Linked DNA regions of Homo sapiens: region 1 is linked to region 2. Evidence: promoter capture Hi-C in 16 types of primary human blood cells and fetal thymus (Javierre and others, 2016). All regions are on one chromosome and are shown on one strand. Each heading gives the region's core, a stretch centred on a gene start or on the middle of the fragment in contact. The rest is flanking DNA. Distances are from core to core; before and after follow the strand shown.

Region 1 (5,810 bases), core at 1,288-3,787, 130 kb after region 2:
CATACAGGTGCTCAGAAAGATGCACCTGTAATCTCTCTAAGGAGAAATATTTTCCAAACTGAGTGACACGGTGCTTTAGTGAGTTGTGGAATCAATCTCATGATTTCCAACCTAGTGTTCTTTTAAAAATGAACTAGTCCACAGTAGAATATACTAAAGTGCTGGTGCTTAAGATAGTATTGTTTTCTGGAAAAAAAAAAAAAATTTTTTTTTTTTGAGACAGGGTCTCGCTCTTGCCCAGGCTGAAGTGCAGTGGCACAATCATGCTCACTGCAGCCTTGACCTCCTGGGCCCAAGTGATTCTCCCACCTCAGCCTTTTGAGTAACTGGGACCACAGGTACGTGCCACCACACCCGGGTAATTTTTTAATTGTAGAGACAGGGTCTTGCTATGTGCTTAGGCTGGCCTTGTGAACTCCTGGGCTCTAGTGATCCACTAGCCTCAGCCTCCCAAATTTATGGGATTATAGGCATGAGCCACCCTACCTGGCCTGTTCCCTGAATTTTTTTTTCTTTCAGGTGTTTGTGCATATGTGTGTGTGTATGGGTATAACAGAGAGACAGAGAGAAAGAAACTTTTCTATCTCACTTTGCAATCAGAAGTTTGAAGTCTTATCTTTTGGCTTTTGTTTCAGAAATATTTCAAATGTAGACTCTCTCCTTTACCACACTGTCCCCTTAGGCAAGGTCTTTGCCATTCTTCTGAGACTATTGCAACAGACTCCCAACTTCTGACTGTGGGCCCTTCTCAAAAATGATTGTTTATGCAATAAATCTAAACCCAAGACAACTACAACAATACAACAAATTCTCTGCTTAAAAACTTCCAATGTCTGCCGGGCGCGGCGGCTCACGCATGTATTCCCAGCACTTTGGAGGCAGAGGCGGGCAGATCACTTGAGGTGGGGAGTTCGAGACTAGCCTGGCCAACATGATGAAACCCCATCTCTACTAAAAATACAAAAAATTAGCCAGGCATGGTGGTGGGCGCCTATAATCCCAGCTAATTGGGAGGCTGAGGCAGGAGAATTGCCTGAACCTGGGAGGTGGAGGTTGCACTGAGCCAAGATCACACCATTGCACTCCAGCCTGGGCAACAAGAGCAAAACTCTGTCTCAAACCAAACCAAAACAAAACTTCTAATATCTACCAAATGTTTCACACAAGTATTTGGGGATCTTCACAAATGGCCCTTATGGAGTTTTCCTTTGCTGAGACCCTATGCTCTGGCCACACTAAACTCATTCAGCATCCCAGAAAGGCCTCAGCCTTTGTGAGCAAGCTCTTATCTCCAGGCCTCTCACAAAGACCTGTTCCAGTAGAAGCTCAGGGGAGCACACTGGACATTATTCCAACAACCCTTTCCCCACAGCTATGCAGCCAAATCTGCCAGCTCAGTTAATTAATTAAGCAATTCAGAGATGAGGGTCTGCCCAGGCTGGAGTGCAGTAGCTGCGACCTCAAGCTCCTGGGCTCTAAGTGATCCTCTTCAGTCTACCCAGAAGCTGGGACTGCAGGCATGTGCCACCACACCCAGCTAATTTTTTTTTTTTTCAGTAGGGACCAGGCCAACCTAGTCTTGAACTCCTGGCCTCCAGCCTTCCGAAGTGCTGTAATTACAGGCATGAATCACTGCGCCCAGCCAACCCGCCCAGTCTTGTTAGACATGGGGTCTGTAGTTTCTAGTAGGTTCTTGAGTCTAGGGTTCCTACCTCATGTTTTATAGTTAATTTAGGGGAGGGACTGTGTCTGTTTATCTGGGGATGTAGGGGTGGGCAGGGGGATAGAGGGGACTTCAATTAATGAAACCAGAAGCAAAACTCAGTTGAGGACACCGGTCATGAGAGTGGCCTGATTATGGCCAATCTTACATAATGTGTGAGATCTTGATATTACCCCATCCTTGAGAGTCCTCTATAAAGCTACAGGGACTTGGGAGCACCTTTAATTACAGACAACCCATGTTCCTGTGGATTATGATTTATTAGATTGCACATGCCTAAATAAAGACATCCTCTGCAGTCTTTTGACAATTCTATAAGCATCTTCTGACTCCGCAATTAGACAGCTAAGAGATCTGTGTTACTTCCCTCACATATATAAATAATTTTAAATAAAAATCATGGCGTGAATAATTTCTTTCCTCTACCGATTTGAAGCTATCCATTTGGAAGACCACTCTGAAGAGATGAAATAAGTCTTCTGCCAAAGATTACTTATTAATTTACAAGGAAAAGGGGAAGTTTTGTTCCTCTCCGTGAATTTGATTGAAAATCGAGGGCTTTCTCGAATAGTTTTGGCATCCAGGGTCATTTTTCATTAAAAAGAGAAAAGTCATGTCAAATATGAATTTCCGCAGATTATTCAGCACTAGACCCTGGGAGATTCTGTAAAGAGGGGTTTTGTTATACTCAACTTTTCCGGGTAAAACAAACACAAATACTCCTCCTCCAAGGGGCGGGGGCGGTGCCTAGGTGATGCACCAATCACAGCGCGCCCTACCCTATATAAGGCCCCGAGGCCGCCCGGGTGTTTCATGCTTTTCGCTGGTTATTACATCTTGCGTTTCTCTGTTGTTATGTCTGAAACCGTGCCTGCAGCTTCTGCCAGTGCTGGTGTAGCCGCTATGGAGAAACTTCCAACCAAGAAGCGAGGGAGGAAGCCGGCTGGCTTGATAAGTGCAAGTCGCAAAGTGCCGAACCTCTCTGTGTCCAAGTTGATCACCGAGGCCCTTTCAGTGTCACAGGAACGAGTAGGTATGTCTTTGGTTGCGCTCAAGAAGGCATTGGCCGCTGCTGGCTACGACGTAGAGAAGAATAACAGCCGCATCAAACTGTCCCTCAAGAGCTTAGTGAACAAGGGAATCCTGGTGCAAACCAGGGGTACTGGTGCTTCCGGTTCCTTTAAGCTTAGTAAGAAGGTGATTCCTAAATCTACCAGAAGCAAGGCTAAAAAGTCAGTTTCTGCCAAGACCAAGAAGCTGGTTTTATCCAGGGACTCCAAGTCACCAAAGACTGCTAAAACCAATAAGAGAGCCAAGAAGCCGAGAGCGACAACTCCTAAAACTGTTAGGAGCGGGAGAAAGGCTAAAGGAGCCAAGGGTAAGCAACAGCAGAAGAGCCCAGTGAAGGCAAGGGCTTCGAAGTCAAAATTGACCCAACATCATGAAGTTAATGTTAGAAAGGCCACATCTAAGAAGTAAAGAGCTTTCCGGGAGGCCAATTTGGAAAGAACCCAAAGGCTCTTTTAAGAGCCACCCACATTATTTTAAGATGGCGTAACACTGGAAACAAGTTTCTGTGACAGTTATCTATAGGTTTAAGTTGTGATGCAGCTGAGTTGAAAAGGCTTGAGATTGGAGAATTAATTCAGGCCAGGCTTCAAGACCATCCTGGGCAACATAGCCAGACTACCATCTATACCAGGGGTCCTCATTTCCCCGGCCACCGACCGGTAACCGGTCCCTGTCCATGGCACGTTATGAATTGAGCCGCACAGCTGAGGGGTGAGCGAACATTAACCAACTGAGCTCCACCGCCTGTCAGGTTAGCTGCAGCATTAGATAGATTCTCATAAGCTCAAACTGTATTGTGAATGGCACATGCAAGGGATCTAGGTTTCAGGCTCCTTGTGACAATCTAATGCCTGATGATCTGAGGTTGGAGCAGTTTTAGTCCGGAAATCATTGCTCCCAGCCCCTGCACCCCCTGGTCCGTGGTATAATTGTCTTACACAAAACGGTCTCTTGTGTCAAAAAGGTTGGAGACTACTGGTTTTACAAAAAAGTAAATTAGTCAAGCATGGTTGGCACGCTCCCTTAGTCCCTGCACCCAGGCGTTTAAGGATACAGTGAGCTATGATGGTGCTACCTCACTCCAGCCTGGGTGACAGCGAGTCAGACGTTGTCTCAAAACTTAAAAAAAAAAAAAGTTAAAACAGAAAAAGGGCTTCTTGTCAGAGACTGCCGTATATCTAGAGGTCCAGGAACTAAAAAGTCTGATGTCCAATCCTGAAAAGCTCGATGGTGCACTAGAGGAGGCTTTTACATGTAAGAGCATCTAAGTTCTGGAAATGCCAGTGTCAGGGAAGGGAAGTGGAGAGCAATTTGGCATCCAAACATAACTTGCTGATACTTTTTTTTTTTTTAACACAAGTACTACATTCTAGTCTTTCTGTGGTGTCATTGTAACTATTGTTTCTTAATATGCTATCCACTGACTTCAAGGGATCAATAAATAGGAATCAAGGTGTCCCAGAATATGGATTAGGGGAGTTTTTTTGTTGTTGTTGTTGTTGTTGTTTTTCATCTATTCATTATCCTGTAGCTGAAATTTAGAATTTTCTTCCATTGTGTGTGACTGATAGAAATAACAAATTTGTAGGTTATAGTTGTTGCAAGAATCTGGAAATCGTGCTTGCTTATTTCCGAAGTACTATTAGGTATATCAACAAAAACACACATATTACGGTCAAGTGGTTTGATAATTATTTTAATATTATTGGTCTAATACAATTGTAACCCTATGAATTACTTTAAGTATCTTATTTATGAAAAGAATCTGTAAGTTTCATCAGACTACCAGAGCATACCGAAGACTGAAAAATTTTAAGAATCCAAACCTTAATGGAAATGTTGGAGGCTGCCCAATTAGGTTCTGAATTCCACCTTCCTGAATCACAAACTTGTTTTAACTCTCAGTCTGAGGTAAACTACGTTTCTCTTTAAACAGACATAGTTTAATTTTCCTTTGATTTTTGATTTAGTATTCTTACTGATCATCATAAATAACCAATGCTAATGTTAGTCTACTTTGGACCATGGTATTTCGAGAAACTTTGAACAAAGTCCCCTGCAAAACTATGCATTGCATTATTTCACATACATTTATGTTTTCCAGACGGTTCAATAGTACCTCACTTTTCTGAACTTATTTGTATAGTTTGGCATCTTTTTAAAAATTGTGTCCTATAATGAAAGGTTGTAAACATTATGTTTTAAATTTGTATAGATAAAATCAACCACAGACCTTTCCTTGCTTGGATGTAATTGCCATTGTTTCCCAATGAGTTCGGAATTACTAGGATTGTGCAAAAATATGCCTCACTTGCCTGACATAGCAGAGAGCCATTTTGCCTAAATGCTGTGCCCAGCAATGGACTGTCACCAGATTCTCATCACATACAGTGAGGATGAACAACTAGCCTCTCCCAGCAGCTGGCCGGTCTCTCAATAATATGGGACTCCCTCAAGATGGCTTCCTGCACCTTTGCTCCTCTAGCCTTGTATGTATACAAGGCTAGCATGCCTGGCATACATAAGGTTAAAAACAAAATCAATAAGTTATGGTTCTTCCTCCAGTTCTGGGGATTATTAGACCACTTTTTTGTTTTGTTTTGTTTTGGATGGAGCCTCGCTCTGTCACCCAGGCTAGAGTGCAGTGGCACAATCTCGGTTCACTGCAACCTCTGCCTCCTGGGTTCAAGCAGTTCTCTGGCTCAGCCTCCCACGTAGCTGGGATTACAGGTGCCCGCCACCACGCCCGGCTAATTTTTGTATTTTTAGTAGACGGGGTTTCACCATCTTGGCCAGGCTGGTCTTGAACGCCAGACCTCGTGATCCACCCACCTTGGCCTACCAAACTGCTGGGAATACAGGCGTGAGCCACCGCGCCCGGACTTAGACCACTTTGTTTTGGCCAATAGGACAACAGCCATAGAACCCTCCGCAAATGAGAGCTTGTCCCTAAAGATGCTTTATTTACATAGCTGTGTGCCGCATGAGCCAAAAGGTGATAACCTTTGTTCAACAC
Region 2 (5,833 bases), core at 2,765-5,264:
CTTAATTCCACAGAATTAAATATTTACTTTCTCAATCTATGAGTTTTTAACTTACAATGGTGTATGTTTGATTTGTATTATTTCACTTTCATAGGGGTAAATGAAACGACACAATAATCATTGTTTAACAACAACAAACACATGAAGCAGAACACAACAAAACTTTTTAAAAATAGATTTTAATGCAAGAGTCAATCTAGAATTTAAAAACCCTTTCTAGGATACACATTTTCTCATTGTTATTTATTTTTTCTGTCAAAGCCAAGCTTTTTACCTTTCAGGGTTTCTCCACTCTATTCTGTCAAACAACATTCCAGCAATTGCCATAATTTTCTATGGCCCTGTAAAGTATGACATAGTGTTTAAACAGTGAATTGTAGCCAAAATGACTGGCTTAAATATCACTGCTCTTGTGTGAAGTCACACATAGATTGGGAGCCACGCCAAGGATGTTCTGGGCCAGAGGACATGCAAGTGGAAAATCTCAAGGTGAGAAAAGCTTTATGTGTTTCAGGAAACAAAGGGCAACTAGTGTGGCCCCTTCCTCTGTTTACAAAAGGCATCACACTCCATTACCCTTATCACTTCTCTGACTCTGACTCTCCTCGCTTCTACTTATAAGGATCCTTGTGATTACAATGGCACCACTCAGGTAATCCAGAATCATCCAATCTCAAAAGCCTTAATTTAATAACATTGGAAAGTTACTTTTACCATTTAAGGAAACATATTCGCAGCTTTTGGGATTAAGATGCGGGCATCTGGGGGGGAGGCATTATTGCTACCAGAAGTATAGTAAGGCATAAAACCTTTTAATAGTGTTGTAAAACGACTCCGAATTCCTAAAATACACAAAAGTCCATTAGAAAATAGTTAAAACCCTTTTTGTTTGAAACTCTAAATTCTTAGTTGCCAGCTGACTGGTAATCGCACATTAACTGTGATGTTTAAAGGGATATTGAATAGATATTAGCATTCTTGGGAGGGCTGTAGAACCACGCCTGATGACACTCCCAGGGACAAACTCCAAAGCTGTGCTGCAGAACTAGTCAGGTGCTGGTGTGTCACACCTGTTATTTCTGAATCAGAACTTGACTCACCTGTAACCTATGGCTGCTGCTACTACCAAAAGTTGGCCCATCTGACATCTGTCACAGCAGAAACAGAGGCTTTAGGCAGTCTCTTCTCTCCTGGGTCCCATTTTTGAAGATAAGTCTTTTAAACCTGTGACTCATTGGTGAAGCCTAGGTTACAGATCTGCATTCCAGCTGCAAATGAGGCTGAGTATTGAAGTTCTGAAACCCAGGGAAGTGAGGCAATGTCCTAACCTGAGAATTTGACAAATATATACATTAAATAAATGGACCAGTATCTTTTGAACCTTTTCTCCTTCAAGTTCCAAAGTAAAACCAAAAGTACATCTATTTGAAACTAAAATTTTATGACACAATATTTTTACTTACTAGATGGGATACTTTGATAATTTCTAGTTGTTATATTGGATTCTATTTACGTTTTATATGCTGGTTGGGACCCACTAAATTATTTTCATTACCCGTGAATGGATCTCAATCTGCATTTTAAAAAGTCTGTAATATAAATTGTTGGCAGCCATGAATATTGACATTTGTGTAAAGGTGAATAGAGAAGATGGTTCTGTGGGAGTAGAGATATTGCTTAATTAAAGGGGAATGATTTTTATAACGGTATATTGGTGATGGCCCAGATAGCTTAATTTCATTGATTCCTTCAGTCATTGCACAAACATTTATGAACTAAATACTACATCCTGAGGATACTAAATTAAAGACATTGTTCAAGACCTGAAAATATCTTGGGAAGAGGGCAAGAATTACTCCCAACTATTTAAGTGTGCAGTAGCTCCTAAGTCGTATAGGGAATTCTGAAGTAGGGCTAGGGACATGTGTAGAGTGTGCTTCGTGAATTGTAAGGAAACCCCAGACACCGATTTTGCCCATAGGAATCAGGTAAAGGCTTCTTGAAGAGGAAACCCCAAGTTGAAGAATATTTGTGGAACAGTGTATGTAATGAATTACCATTGACAAAAAAAGAACAGATGAGAAGCCACTTCTTCGGTATGGTGAAAAAATGAAAACGTTAGGAGTCAGGATCGCGGGTGATAACCGGGTAGGTTGACAAAGCACAAGGAGAAACACTTTGGGTTATAAATTACCAGTACTTGAGAAATAAAGCAGTAAAATTATCAATGACCTGAAATCACAGTAAGTGCCCCAACAAAGAATTCACTGGGTAAGACAAAAACTTGGGCTTTTTTTTTTCTTTTTGAGACGGAGCCTTGTTCTGTGCCCCAGGCCTGGAGTGCAGTGGCGCGACCTCGGCTCACTGCAACCTCAGTCTCCCGGGTTCAAGTGATTCTCCTGCCTCAGCCTCCCGAGTAGCTGGGACTACAGGCGCGTGTCACCACGTCTACGTCTAATTTTTGTATTTTTAGTAGAGACGAGGTTTTGCAGTGCTAGCCAGGCTGGTCTCGAACTCGTTGAGCTCAAGTGATCCACCCACCTCGGCCTCCCAAGCTGCTGGAATTACAGATGGGATTGCAGACATGAGCCACCGAGCCCGGCCAAACTTTACTTTTTTTTTTTTTTTTTTGAGGCATGGTCTCTGTCGCCCAGGCAGGAGTGGAGTGGCACCATCTCAGCTCACTGAAATCTCCGCCTCCCGTGCTCAAGCGATTCTCCTGCCTCAGCCCTTGCAGATTAGCTGCGACAGCAGGCGTCCGCCACAACGCCGGGCTAACTTTCCTATTTAACTTTTTTAGTTGAGACGGAGTTTCACCATTTTGGTTGCCCAGGCTAGTCTCGAACTCCTGAGCTCTAGTAATCCGCCCGCCGTGGTCTCCCAAGGTGCTGTGATTCAGGCCTGAGGCACCGCGCCCGGACACAAGTAGTGGATTAAGTTTACCAGTAATTGATCTGTCCACAGCCGCCCTAAGATTACTCACGTTCTATGCCTAATAAATAACACTAAGGCCGGGCACGGTGGCTCACGCCTGCAATCCCTGCACTTTGGGAGGCCAAGAAGGGCGGATCACCTGAGGTCGGGAGTTCGAGACCAGCCAGACCAACACAGAAAAGCCCCTTCTGTACTAAAAATAAAAAATTAGCCAAGCGTGGTGGCGCATGCCTGTAACCCCAGTTACTCGGGAGGTTGAGTCAGGAGAACCGCTTAAACCCGGGAGGGGGTGGTTGCGGTGAGCCGAGATTGCGTCATTGCACTACAGCCTGGACAAGAGCAACTCCATCTCAAAAACTAAACATGTAATGCTAGTGTAGTTAAGTCCCAGCCACCTAACATAGGAGTAAATTTCAGAAACGTGGGAATAAAACACATCACATACGTCATAAAAGGCTGCTGGTATTCCCAAACCATTTCCACCATCTTTTCCTGTGAATGTTTGCGATCGAAATACCTGAACAAGTTTCTAATGTTTCGCCTTCCCTTTCTCCTTAGCACATCCGCCATCTTAGGAAGATCGCTAAAAACGGCTCGGTTTAACTCAGTTAGAATCCCAAATTTACAAAACGAAACCCAAGTCGTCATCAGTTACAGCCCTTCGTGTGACGAAGGAGGTGGCCCTGAAAAGGGCCTTTTATGGGTGAGCTGTTAAATAAAAAGCCGGGGTGAGGCTCAGCCACCAAAGCCGTACAGAGTGCGTCCCTGGCGCTTGAGCGCGTAGACAACATCCATTGCAGTGACTGTCTTACGCTTGGCGTGCTCCGTGTAGGTTACGGCGTCCCGTATCACATTCTCCAGGAACACCTTAAGAACACCGCGGGTCTCCTCATAAATGAGGCCCGAAATGCGTTTCACGCCGCCGCGTCGGGCCAAGCGACGGATGGCGGGCTTCGTGATGCCCTGTATGTTGTCACGCAGCACTTTGCGATGGCGCTTGGCGCCTCCCTTTCCTAAACCTTTACCACCTTTGCCTCTACCAGACATGATCGAAGACAAACAACAACTCTTAACTTTTGCAACTTTGCTACACACTGAAGCCCCTTATATATCAATTATGCGGACCTTTTTGGAGACTGAATTGGAGGGGCGGGAACGAAACCTCTGTCTCCGCCTTTTCCGTAACTTACTGGGCGTCCCCTACACTATTGCCTTGGGAAGGAAAGGGGGCGGTGAGGGTAGGGGAAATGCAAGTTGATTTGACTCCTTCCTGTTTCCTTGTTTGGGTCTTGAGTGTAGGTTTCTGTGTCTTCTAGTCCAGTGCCTGTGGGCTCTCGAACTGATAATGTCTGTCTCCTAAAATCCTTATTATTTGCAAAAAGGAGGCAGTAACGCTACACTTGTCTACCGAATGGATAGACAAGAGAATAAAATTATTATTTCTTTTGAAACAGTTTTGCTCTGCCCCAGACTGGAGTGCAGTGGCGTGATCTCGGCTCACTGCAACCTCCGCCTCTCGGGTTCGAGCGATTCTTCTGCCTCAGCCCCTGCAGTAGCTGCAACTACAGGCGCGCGTCACCACGCCCGGCTAATTTTTGTATTTTTAGTAGAGATGGGGTTTCGCCATGTTGACTAGGCTGGTCTCGAACTCCTGACCTCAGGTGATCCACCCGCCTCGGCCTCCCAAAGTTCTGGGATTACAGGCGCCTAGCTTTAATTTTTAAATGTGAAGATTCTTTGAAAATGTATTTTTACTAATTTTTTTTTTTTGATACGGGGTCTCACTCTGTTGCCCAGGCTGGAGTGCAGTGGCGCTATCTCGGCTCACTGCAACCTCCGCCTTCTGGGTTCAAGCGATTCTCATGCCTCAGCCTCACGAGTAGCTGTGATTTCAGGCACGCGTCGCCACACCTGGGTAATTTTTGTATTTTCTTAGTAAAGACGGGGTTTCGCCATGTTGGCCAGGGTGGTCTCGAACTCCTGACTTCAGGTGATCCACCCACCTTGGCCTCACAAAGTGCTGGGATTACTGGCGTGAGCCACCACGCCCGGCCATTTTTATTAATTCTTAAAATGTAGCAATACTTCTTAAATTTGGCCAATCATGAGACTTAGCGTTTGGCAGAGACATATACATTCACATCGTTTTTGGCATTCCTAATAAAGAAAGACCTCTAGTAAGGGAAACCAATATTAATTGAAGTTTCATTCTTAGTTTTTCAATGTATAATGCAATATCTGAGGTGTAAAGATAAGGAATCCCAGGCTTGAAGACATTATCCTCTAATAAATGGCATTGTATTGTTGGCTCGATTCTGGAGTCTCACTACCTTGCTACCTACCACTGCTTTCATGCCACTAAAGCATACATGGTAAATCATGGTGAATAAAGGTTTGTAAATTAACAAAAATAATACTAATAAATTCTGTGAAATACTGTCCTAATAAAAGATTCCGGAAGAAGTGTTCTACACACAGATCATAGGGTATGTGTAGTAGAAAAATTCAACATTAACTCTTACAGTCTACTGCTTCACATTCATTGCCTCCTATATACTGCAAGGGTAACTTAAAAATCCCGTCTCTGCTGGTGCCTAAAAGCAGTGAGAAGATTATTCATTTTGTGGAGTTAAGAGTCTACTTAAATTTTGGCTTAGGTTCAGTTACCTGTAGGAATAGACACAAGGATCTCAAGTGCTCTCCTTTTTGAGGTAGGCACCAAACAAGCATCATTCATTCATTCAACAATTTAATGTCCACTACATGCCAAGAATAGTGTACAAATACCAGGTTTACAAAGATAATCACATTTATTCTCTTAAAGAACTCAAAAGTTTAGTAAAGGGAAAAGTACACTCAGGGTTAGGGGGCAGATATCAGACCAGCATACTTCTACTTA

Evidence for each region. The method cuts DNA at HindIII sites, captures the fragments that hold promoters and counts their contacts. A CHiCAGO score of 5 or more calls a contact.
Region 1: a contact is called between the fragment with the promoter of H1-6 here and the fragment with the promoter of H4C6 in region 2, in 1 of 17 cell types (monocytes). The highest score is 5.4, in monocytes.

The regions. Positions count from the first base shown.
Region 1 is chr6:26,104,862-26,110,671 of GRCh38, reverse strand. H1-6 (H1.6 linker histone, cluster member) reads left to right here and starts at 2,537. Exons shown (of 1, transcript NM_005323.4): 1 at 2,537-3,260. The coding sequence starts at 2,579. The coding sequence ends at 3,202. The HindIII fragment of the contact is 5,524 bases long and covers 1-2,910 here.
Region 2 is chr6:26,238,574-26,244,406 of GRCh38, reverse strand. H4C6 (H4 clustered histone 6) reads right to left here and starts at 4,014. Exons shown (of 1, transcript NM_003540.4): 1 at 3,614-4,014. The coding sequence starts at 3,981. The coding sequence ends at 3,670. RefSeq lists enhancers at 3,778-3,827, 4,288-4,387. The HindIII fragment of the contact is 5,393 bases long and covers 502-5,833 here.